3 separate regions of the Homo sapiens genome follow, and all the other regions are linked to region 1. Evidence: promoter capture Hi-C in 16 types of primary human blood cells and fetal thymus (Javierre and others, 2016). All regions are on one chromosome and are shown on one strand. The core of a region is centred on a gene start or on the middle of the fragment in contact, and the rest is flanking DNA. Distances in the headings are between cores, read along the strand shown. Region 1 holds the start of OSGEP (O-sialoglycoprotein endopeptidase). Region 2 overlaps TEP1 (telomerase associated protein 1). Region 3 has its middle 13 kb from the start of RNASE11.

Region 1 (2,700 bases), core at 29-2,528:
CTTCTTAATCCAGGCTCGAAGCCCATCCACATTCCAAGAGCAGATCTTGAGTGTGGCAGGTTTGCCACTGGGTGAGGTTTTCTGATCTGGGGGGTCCTCATACAGGGCTGGGCCCTCTCCTGCTGCCTCTTTGTCATTTTTCTTTGCGGCCGTCTTACTCTTCTTGGCCTCTGGCTCTATAAAATGAGTAATATATACTGACAAAAAGCTGGTGGTTTCCAACTGCGATCCGGCGTTAACTATAGACCCAACGAAAGCCTACGGTTCCTGCGACTTCTTCACAAACCCCTGCAAAAATGAGTCGGCCCGTACTTACCGTACATCAAGGGAATGACAAACACCCCCGCCGCAGCTTCTAGGAAGAAGGGCTGATTTCATTCCCTTACCTGTCCTGAGCTCATCCCCGTCTTCCGCCACCGCTCCCTTTTTCCCACGCTTCGGCATTCCCGTTACGAACGCCCTTGGGCAGCTGTACCGCGTCACCCACCGAAGCAATATTTTTACCGCGTTGCCTACAGACGCAAAGAAATCATGAAACCAGCTAAGGCTGGGGAGAAGACTCCTCCCAAGAGCGTCCCCGCACCAGGTCCCGCCTTTCAAACCACGTTATCTCTAAATCCTTTCCCCGCCTCCGTGCATCATAGGCCCTTCAGCCCCTCACCCACGAAACTAGATCATTTCATAGTGCCTTGTACCCTACTCGCGAGATCTGCCCTCCAGCCAATTGAGGATCTTAATTAAGGGTCCTGACTCAAGCTTGCCGTTCAGACTGCCAGCGAAGCCCCTCTTATGAGCAAAAGAGCAACCCCGTATCTGCACCGGCCCGATGGCAGCCTAGCTCCTCCTAACCCGAGCACAAAGAAGGGTGCACGCTGAGCCCCCACGTGGGTAGCGGACCTGGTCACGTGATCAGAGGCGCGCTTGTCGTGGCCGAAGAATGCGCGTGATTGGTCTGTCTGACACCACGTGACGGAGACGCTTAGCCTCGCCTCCCTCCTCTAATTCTCTAGGACACTTAGGTCCCCAACCCTCCCTCGGGCTGTTTATCGTTGTGCCAGATGCACAGCACATTGTGTGACACTGACTTAAGATTCTAACTATGTGCAAGAGGGAAAAAAACAGTGGAGAAGGCTGGGCTGGACCACGGGAAAGAGATAGGAAAACGGATACGAATGTAAGGCACAGAGTTGGCTCGGCGTCCCTGGCAGTTAGGAAGACAGGTCCCTGGAGGGGCCTTGGCGGGTCTCCGCTCGCGGGAGTTCCGCGGTGTCTTTCCCAGTGCTATCTGCAGGCTGGCCAGCTTCCTCTGCGCTCCGGAAAGCTGCGGCCCAGCGCGGACTAGTGAGGACCTCCACAGCTCCTGACATTGCCAGGAGTCCTGTCGGCGTTTTCTCCCAGCCTCCGCCATGCCGGCGGTGCTGGGTTTTGAAGGCAGCGCCAATAAGATTGGCGTGGGCGTGGTGCGGGATGGCAAGGTGCTGGCGAACCCGCGGCGGACTTACGTCACGCCTCCTGGCACAGGTTGGTGAGTAGGGGACTTAAGAGTTTTCCGCGCACTTCCCCGCACAGAATCAGCCTTCCATCTTCCTAAATACTAGTGAGGTGCAGCTTTCGATCCGAGTCTCATTGAAATTATGTGACATTATTAACGTCACAAGGCTGATGACTAGAAGAGTTACAGGCACTTGGACGTGGATCTGATGAGTTCATTTACCTTTTACTGAGCGCATTTTATGTGCTAAGTATTCAGAAATAGATGTTATACTGCTGTGGAGTCAGACATATAAATAGATGTTTATACTACAGCATGATAAACAGTATAATAGAGATGGACTCGAAATATTCTGTTTAAAAAACGCTTAGCAGGAGTATAGATTCCAGTTGCCCTGAATATACACTCCCTTTTTAAAAAAAAATTATTTTTTGAAATATTCTAGGATGAGTAGAGAGATGAGAGTGGAAAGACTCCCGGCTTACATGTCAGACAGAACTGGCTGGCTTTGCTATATTCATATTAAATATTTTTGTTTTGGACATTTGGTCTTTATTTTTTATTTTATTTTATTTTTTTGAGACAGAGTCTTGCTCTGTCGCCCAGGCTGGAATGCAGTGGCACGATCTCGGCTCACTGCAATCTCTGCCTTCCAGGTTCAAGCGATTCTTCTACCCCAGCCTCCCAAGTAGCTAGGACTATAGGTGTGCGCCACCACATCCAGCTAAATTTTGTATTTTTAGTAGAGTCGGGGTTTCCACCAGGCCAAGCTGGTCTCGAACTCCTGACCTCAGATGATCCGCCCACCCCAGCCTCCCAAAGTGTGGAAATTACAGGCATGAGCCACCGCTCGGGCCTGGTCTTTGTTTTTAAAATGGGAATAATACCTGTATCATTAGGTCTTGAAGATTAGATGAAAGTACCAAACACGGCTGGGCGTGGTGGCTCACGCCTGTAATCCCAGCACTTTGGGAGGCCAAGGCAGGCAGATCACCTGAGGTCGGGGTTCGAGACCAGCCTGACCAACATGGAGAAACCATGTTTCCACTAAAAAATACAAAAAATTAACTGGGCGTGGTGGCGCATGCCTGTAAACCCAGCTACTTGGGAGGCTGAGGCAGGAGAATTGCGTGAACCCGGGAGACAGAGGTTGCAGTGAGCCGAGATGGTGCCATTGCACTCCAGCCTGGGCATCAAGAGTGAAACTC
Region 2 (2,738 bases), core at 124-2,623, 73 kb after region 1:
GGCACGGAGGAGAGAGGCCTCTCCAATGTGGTTCTCCTTTTCTTTCTACCTTCCTGCCCCTTTGCCCAAATATCACAGTGTGTACACCTGGTGCTGAGTGTGTCTAGTGATGCAGGCCTAGGGGAGACCCTTGAGCAGAGCCAGGGTGCCCACGTGCTGGCCTTGGGGCCTCTGGAGGCCTCTGCTCGGGCCCGGCTGGTGAGAGAGGAGCTGGCCCTGTACGGGAAGCGGCTGGAGGAGTCACCATTTAACAACCAGGTTGGGTTCTAGGCCGGGGCCGGTGGGTGTGTGGGGTGAATCTGGGAGCTATGAGGACCTGGGGTGCCGAGGCCGCTAGCTGCCTTGCACAGACCTGCTCCTTTGTTTTCTCAGAAATTCTGTCCATGGGAAGTTGTTAATAAGAAAATTGTGATTCCTGATCATGTCACCCAGCCCTCTTCCCCCGGTGAATGGCCTTTCCAGGGCCTCTCGGGGTGAGGGGATGAGTCAAGTGGTTTTTGGTGGGGTAGGCCGAGCCACAGGGGTTTTCTGGCAGGGCTGGCTGGGCAGAGCAGCGTAGGAGAGGGATGGTTTGTGTCCTGGGATGATGCCATGGACCTGGCGTCTGCTGGGGACTCTCAGAGGAGGAGCTGCCTGGCAGAGGGGCTGGTGCTGGGGCAGAGGGCTGGCTGCGGGCAGCCCTCCTGGACCCCACCCTGAGTCCTGAGTCTTGCCAGATGCGACTGCTGCTGGTGAAGCGGGAATCAGGCCGGCCGCTCTACCTGCGCTTGGTCACCGATCACCTGAGGCTCTTCACGCTGTATGAGCAGGTCAGTTCTCATCACCTTCCAAGTCCTAATCACTACTTCCCATTCTCTCTTCAGCTGCTTTGTCTCATCCCTATCCCACGTCCTTTGCTGTCTTGTGATCACCCACTCCCTATCCTCGCCTCATACCTCGCCTCACTTCCCTCCTACTGTTGTTCTTTACTTTTTCATTCCTCCACACTGTCCTCCTGCTGCCCCTTCCCTATCCCACAAGCCAAGCTGCTTCTCCTCCCACTGCACTGAACAAGGCTGTCCTCCCGCCATCCTAGGTGTCTGAGAGACTCCGGACCCTGCCTGCCACTGTCCCCCTGCTGCTGCAGCACATCCTGAGCACACTGGAGAAGGAGCACGGGCCTGATGTCCTTCCCCAGGCCTTGACTGCCCTAGAAGTCACACGGAGTGGTCAGTGCTTGGGGTGGGTTGGTTGGGAGGCTGAGGGCCAGGGTTCGGATTACATTGGTTCCCTTGGGGTCTCAGCAGGCAGTTCAAGGAGAGACTGGGTGTGGTGGGGGCGGGGACACCGTATGGTTAGATGAGGGCCTCAGAGAGCTTGAGTTTTCAGGTTTGACTGTGGACCAGCTGCACGGAGTGCTGAGTGTGTGGCGGACACTACCGAAGGGGACTAAGAGCTGGGAAGAAGCAGTGGCTGCTGGTAACAGTGGAGACCCCTACCCCATGGGCCCGTTTGCCTGCCTCGTCCAGAGTCTGCGCAGGTACAGGTGCCCCAGCAGAGCTCCCGCTGACCTCTCTGTGCCTTCCCTTCTTTGAGCCGGGGCCCTCTGTATAGCTTCAACAACTGGCTCCCAGACCATGAATGAGCTACTGCTCCAGCTGCTCCAGTTTCCGCTATTTGAGGGGGGAATAGGAGCCCACTGTGTGCCAGGAAGCTCACTGACAGGCCTCTTCCTTCTTCTCTCTCCCTTCCTCACACGAGGACAGTTTGCTAGGGGAGGGCCCTCTGGAGCGCCCTGGTGCCCGGCTGTGCCTCCCTGATGGGCCCCTGAGAACAGCAGCTAAACGTTGCTATGGGAAGAGGCCAGGGCTAGAGGACACGGCACACATCCTCATTGCAGGTGATTGCAGCCCAAGTCAGCCTGGGCACTGAGTGTGGGGCTTGGGCCTGGAGGCCAGGACCACCCACTGTGCTCCCATCTGCTGGCCAGCTCACCTACTGCCCTTGGGAATGATGCAGGGCTGAGCCTTTCTCAATATCTGTTCATGCAGCTCAGCTCTGGAAGACATGTGACGCTGATGCCTCAGGCACCTTCCGAAGTTGCCCTCCTGAGGCTCTGGGAGACCTGCCTTACCACCTGGTTAGTTCCTAGACCCCATAGACACCTTTCCCAAAGTGAGTGCTTTGGTTGCTCTGAGACCCCTCTCCCCGTTACCATCTCCACCATCACCGCCGCCATTACCCCTCCCAAACTCCCTTGACCTCTTTCCTTTCAGTTTTCCTGCCCTTCTTCTTCAAGTCCTTTGTCCCAGCTCAGATCCTATCTCTGTATCCAGGTTCTGAGACTAAACTGTCCCTTCTCACCAGCCCCTTCATATCCCTAATGAATTCAATCTGACCTTCTCAGCTCCAGAGCGGGAACCGTGGACTTCTTTCGAAGTTCCTTACCAACCTCCATGTGGTGGCTGCACACTTGGAATTGGGTCTGGTCTCTCGGCTCTTGGAGGCCCATGCCCTCTATGGTGAGATGAGTCACTGGCTGGGTTCTTCTCTGAGATATGGGACTCCTGGGTGTGCTTATGGGGGCCCTGCTCAGGGTTGGGGCAGGGGTGTGGGTGTCAGGGAAAAAAGATTCAAATTTCCATTTCGAGTTGAAAATGCCAAGAGGGTGAGCACGTGACTCTCAGGAGACCTTTCACCTTGATCTCTTGGACCAGAGATTCTTCAACTTTATTTAGTTAGCATAAAACTATCTAGGA
Region 3 (2,700 bases), core at 39-2,538, 120 kb before region 1:
AGAATCTGCAGGAATTTCATTTTTCATACTTTCAGAACTTTAATGATGCTTTTGCACTGTATTCTTTCTTATGTTATTTCAGATGAAAAATCTAATGTCAAGTTTATCTTTGTTTCTCTGATCATAACGTATCTTCTTCTTTTTTTTTTTTCTTTAGACAGAGTTTCACTTTTGTTGCCCAGGCTGGAGTGCAATGGTACGATCTCGGCTCACCGCAACCTCTGCCTCCTGGATTCAAGCGATTCTCCTGCCTCAACCTCCCAAGTAGCTGGGACTACAGGCGTGCACCACCACGCCCAGCTAATTTTTGTATTATTAGTAGAGATGGGGTTTCACCATCTTGGCCAGGCTGGTCTTGAACTCCCAACCCCATGATCCACCTGCCTCGGCCTCCCAAAGTGCTGGGATTACAGGCATGAGCCACCGTGCCTAGCCTTCTTTTTTTCTTGAGACAGTCTTGCTCTGTTGCCCAGGCTGGAGTGCAGTGGCACGATCTCGGCTCACTACAACCTCTGCCTCCTGGGCTCAAACCATTTGTCCACCTCAGCCTCCAGAGTAGCTGGGACTACAGGCATGCTCCACTATGCCCTGCTAATTTTTATATTTTTAGTATAGATGAGGTTTCACCATGTTGGCCAGGCTGGTCTCAAACTCCTGACCTCAAGTGATCCACCTGCCTGGGCCTCCCAAAGTGCTGGGGTTACAGGTATGAACCACCATGCCTGGCGCTGACTATAACAATGTCTTTTTTTGTAAGATTGCTTCTAAGGTTTTCCCTATCACTGTTTTCTCCCCCTCTCACTTGGAGCATGATACACCTTGATGTTTTGTTCTTGGGACTTGCTGAGATTTTTGTATCTGTGAATGTATACTTTTCATCAAGTTTTGAAAGCTTTTGGCCATTATATCTTCAAAAAAATTTAATTTCCCCAGTTCTCCCCTTTAGAGACTCCAGGGCTACTTGCATTTATTGTATACTATTTTTTTCTTATGCAATTTCTAATCTGCCATTAATCGCAACCAGTGTATATTTTTTTTAATTTCACACACTGTAGTTTTTATTTCTAAAAGTTTGATTTTTTTTTTAATCATCTAAAACTCAACCCTTTCTTTTGCCTGTGTAGAATTCAGTTGTGGTAACTGTTTCTCTGTTAATTCTGAAATTTGTAATTGCTCTGGTTCGGTTTCCATTGACTGATTGTTCTCCTCATAAAGGTTTGTGTTTTCCTGCTCTTTTACATGCTTGGTAATCTTTGATTGGATTTCAGATGTTTTGAATTCTACATTGTTGGCTTACCTTGTAGGAATATTTGTATATTCCTATAAATCTTCTTGAGTGTTGTTCAAGGATACGTTTAAGCTACTTGGAACCACTTTGATCCTTTTGGATCTTGACTTTATGATTTGTTAGACAGCTCTGAAGAAGCGCTTAGTCCGGAGTTAATTATCGACCACTACTACCCAGATTAAGGGTGGGTCTGCCTGTCCCAGCCCACTGACTCAAATGTTAATCTCCTTTGGCAACACCCTCACAGACACACCCAGGATCAATCATTTACATCCTTCAATCCAATCAAGTTGACACTCGGTATTGACCATTACAGGAGCCCTGTGCAGATCTCTAAGGTTATGTCTCCATGCAGCTTTCTCATCTCACATGTTCTATCCTAAAGGCTCAAGCTTCTTTGACCTCTCAGTTTCATGTCCTGAACTCAGGTAGTCTGAAGACTCTAAGTTTACTCTTCCTTTACTTTTGCCTAAAATCTCTATAGACAGCAAGCTGAGTGATTGTAGGGCTCACCTTGTTTGGTTCCTCTCTCTCAATGATGAGTGTGTTTCGTGGCCTCAAGTTCAGTGTCTTGAAAATAAGTTTTAATGCTTTTTGTTAGTTTTTTTATGGTTTTGGATGGGGAAGTAAATCAGGTCTGTGTTATCCATCTTGGCTGGAAGATGTTCCCAGTCTTTTTTTTTTTCCTTTCTTTTTTAATTAATACATTATAATTGTATCTACTTATGAGATACACTGGATACTTCGATACATGCATACAATGTGTAATATCAAATTAGGGTAACTAGGATATCCACTACCTCAAACATTTATCATTTCTTTGTGTTGGGAACATTCCAAGTCTTTTCTTCTAGCTATTTTGAAATGTACAATAAATTATTGGTAACTATAGTCACCCTACTATGCTATTGAATGCTAGAAATTATTCCTTCTACTTAACTGTATTTTTTCTACCCATTAACTAGCCTTTCTTACCCCTCCTTTCCCACCCTTTCCCAGTCTCTGGTAACCATCATTCTACTTTCTACCTCCATGGGATCAACTTTTTGAGCTCCTGGATATGAATGAAATGTACAATATTTGTCTTTCTGTGACTGACTTATTTCACTTCACATAATGACCTCCAGTTCCATCCATGTTGCTGCAAATGACAGAAGTTCATTGTTTTTTTTATGGCTGAATAGTATTCCATTGTTTATATATATTACATTGTCTTTATTTGTTAATACATTGATGGGCACTTAGGTTAATTCTATAACTGGGCTATTGTAAATAGTGTTGCAATAAACATAAGCGTGCAGATACCACTTTGATATATTGATTTCCTTTCTTTTGGGTATATACCCAGCAGTGGGATTGCTGGATCATTTGTTAGTTTTATTTTTAGTTTTTTAAGGCATCTCCATACTGTT

Evidence for each region. The method cuts DNA at HindIII sites, captures the fragments that hold promoters and counts their contacts. A CHiCAGO score of 5 or more calls a contact.
Region 2: a fragment that was not itself captured here is called in contact with the fragment with the promoter of OSGEP in region 1 in 5 of 17 cell types (M1 macrophages, M2 macrophages, endothelial precursors and 2 more); the score reaches 7.8 in M1 macrophages.
Region 3: a fragment that was not itself captured here is called in contact with the fragment with the promoter of OSGEP in region 1 in 1 of 17 cell types (megakaryocytes); the score reaches 5.6 in megakaryocytes.

Annotation. Positions count from the first base shown.
Region 1 is chr14:20,453,390-20,456,089 of GRCh38, reverse strand. It overlaps OSGEP (O-sialoglycoprotein endopeptidase), which reads left to right and starts at 1,278. Exons shown (of 11, transcript NM_017807.4): 1 at 1,278-1,521. The coding sequence starts at 1,407. It overlaps APEX1 (apurinic/apyrimidinic endodeoxyribonuclease 1), which reads right to left and starts at 864. Exons shown (of 5, transcript NM_001641.4): 1 at 696-864; 2 at 387-512; 3 at 1-176. The coding sequence starts at 444. RefSeq lists enhancers at 601-820, 1,241-1,330, cis regulatory regions at 882-887, 903-908, 921-953, 964-969, 966-1,007 and 2 more, promoters at 755-1,089, 754-1,291, 921-1,365 and a silencer at 2,628-2,700. The HindIII fragment of the contact is 3,687 bases long and covers 759-2,700 here.
Region 2 is chr14:20,380,694-20,383,431 of GRCh38, reverse strand. TEP1 (telomerase associated protein 1) reads left to right here. Exons shown (of 55, transcript NM_007110.5): 27 at 79-258; 28 at 717-809; 29 at 1,076-1,208; 30 at 1,369-1,519; 31 at 1,746-1,879; 32 at 2,031-2,119; 33 at 2,387-2,501. Among named protein-coding and RNA genes, the nearest start is that of TEP1, 31 kb to the left of the region's middle. The HindIII fragment of the contact is 2,872 bases long and covers 1-2,738 here.
Region 3 is chr14:20,573,874-20,576,573 of GRCh38, reverse strand. No RefSeq gene overlaps it. Among named protein-coding and RNA genes, the nearest start is that of RNASE11, 13 kb to the left of the region's middle. The HindIII fragment of the contact is 788 bases long and covers 895-1,682 here.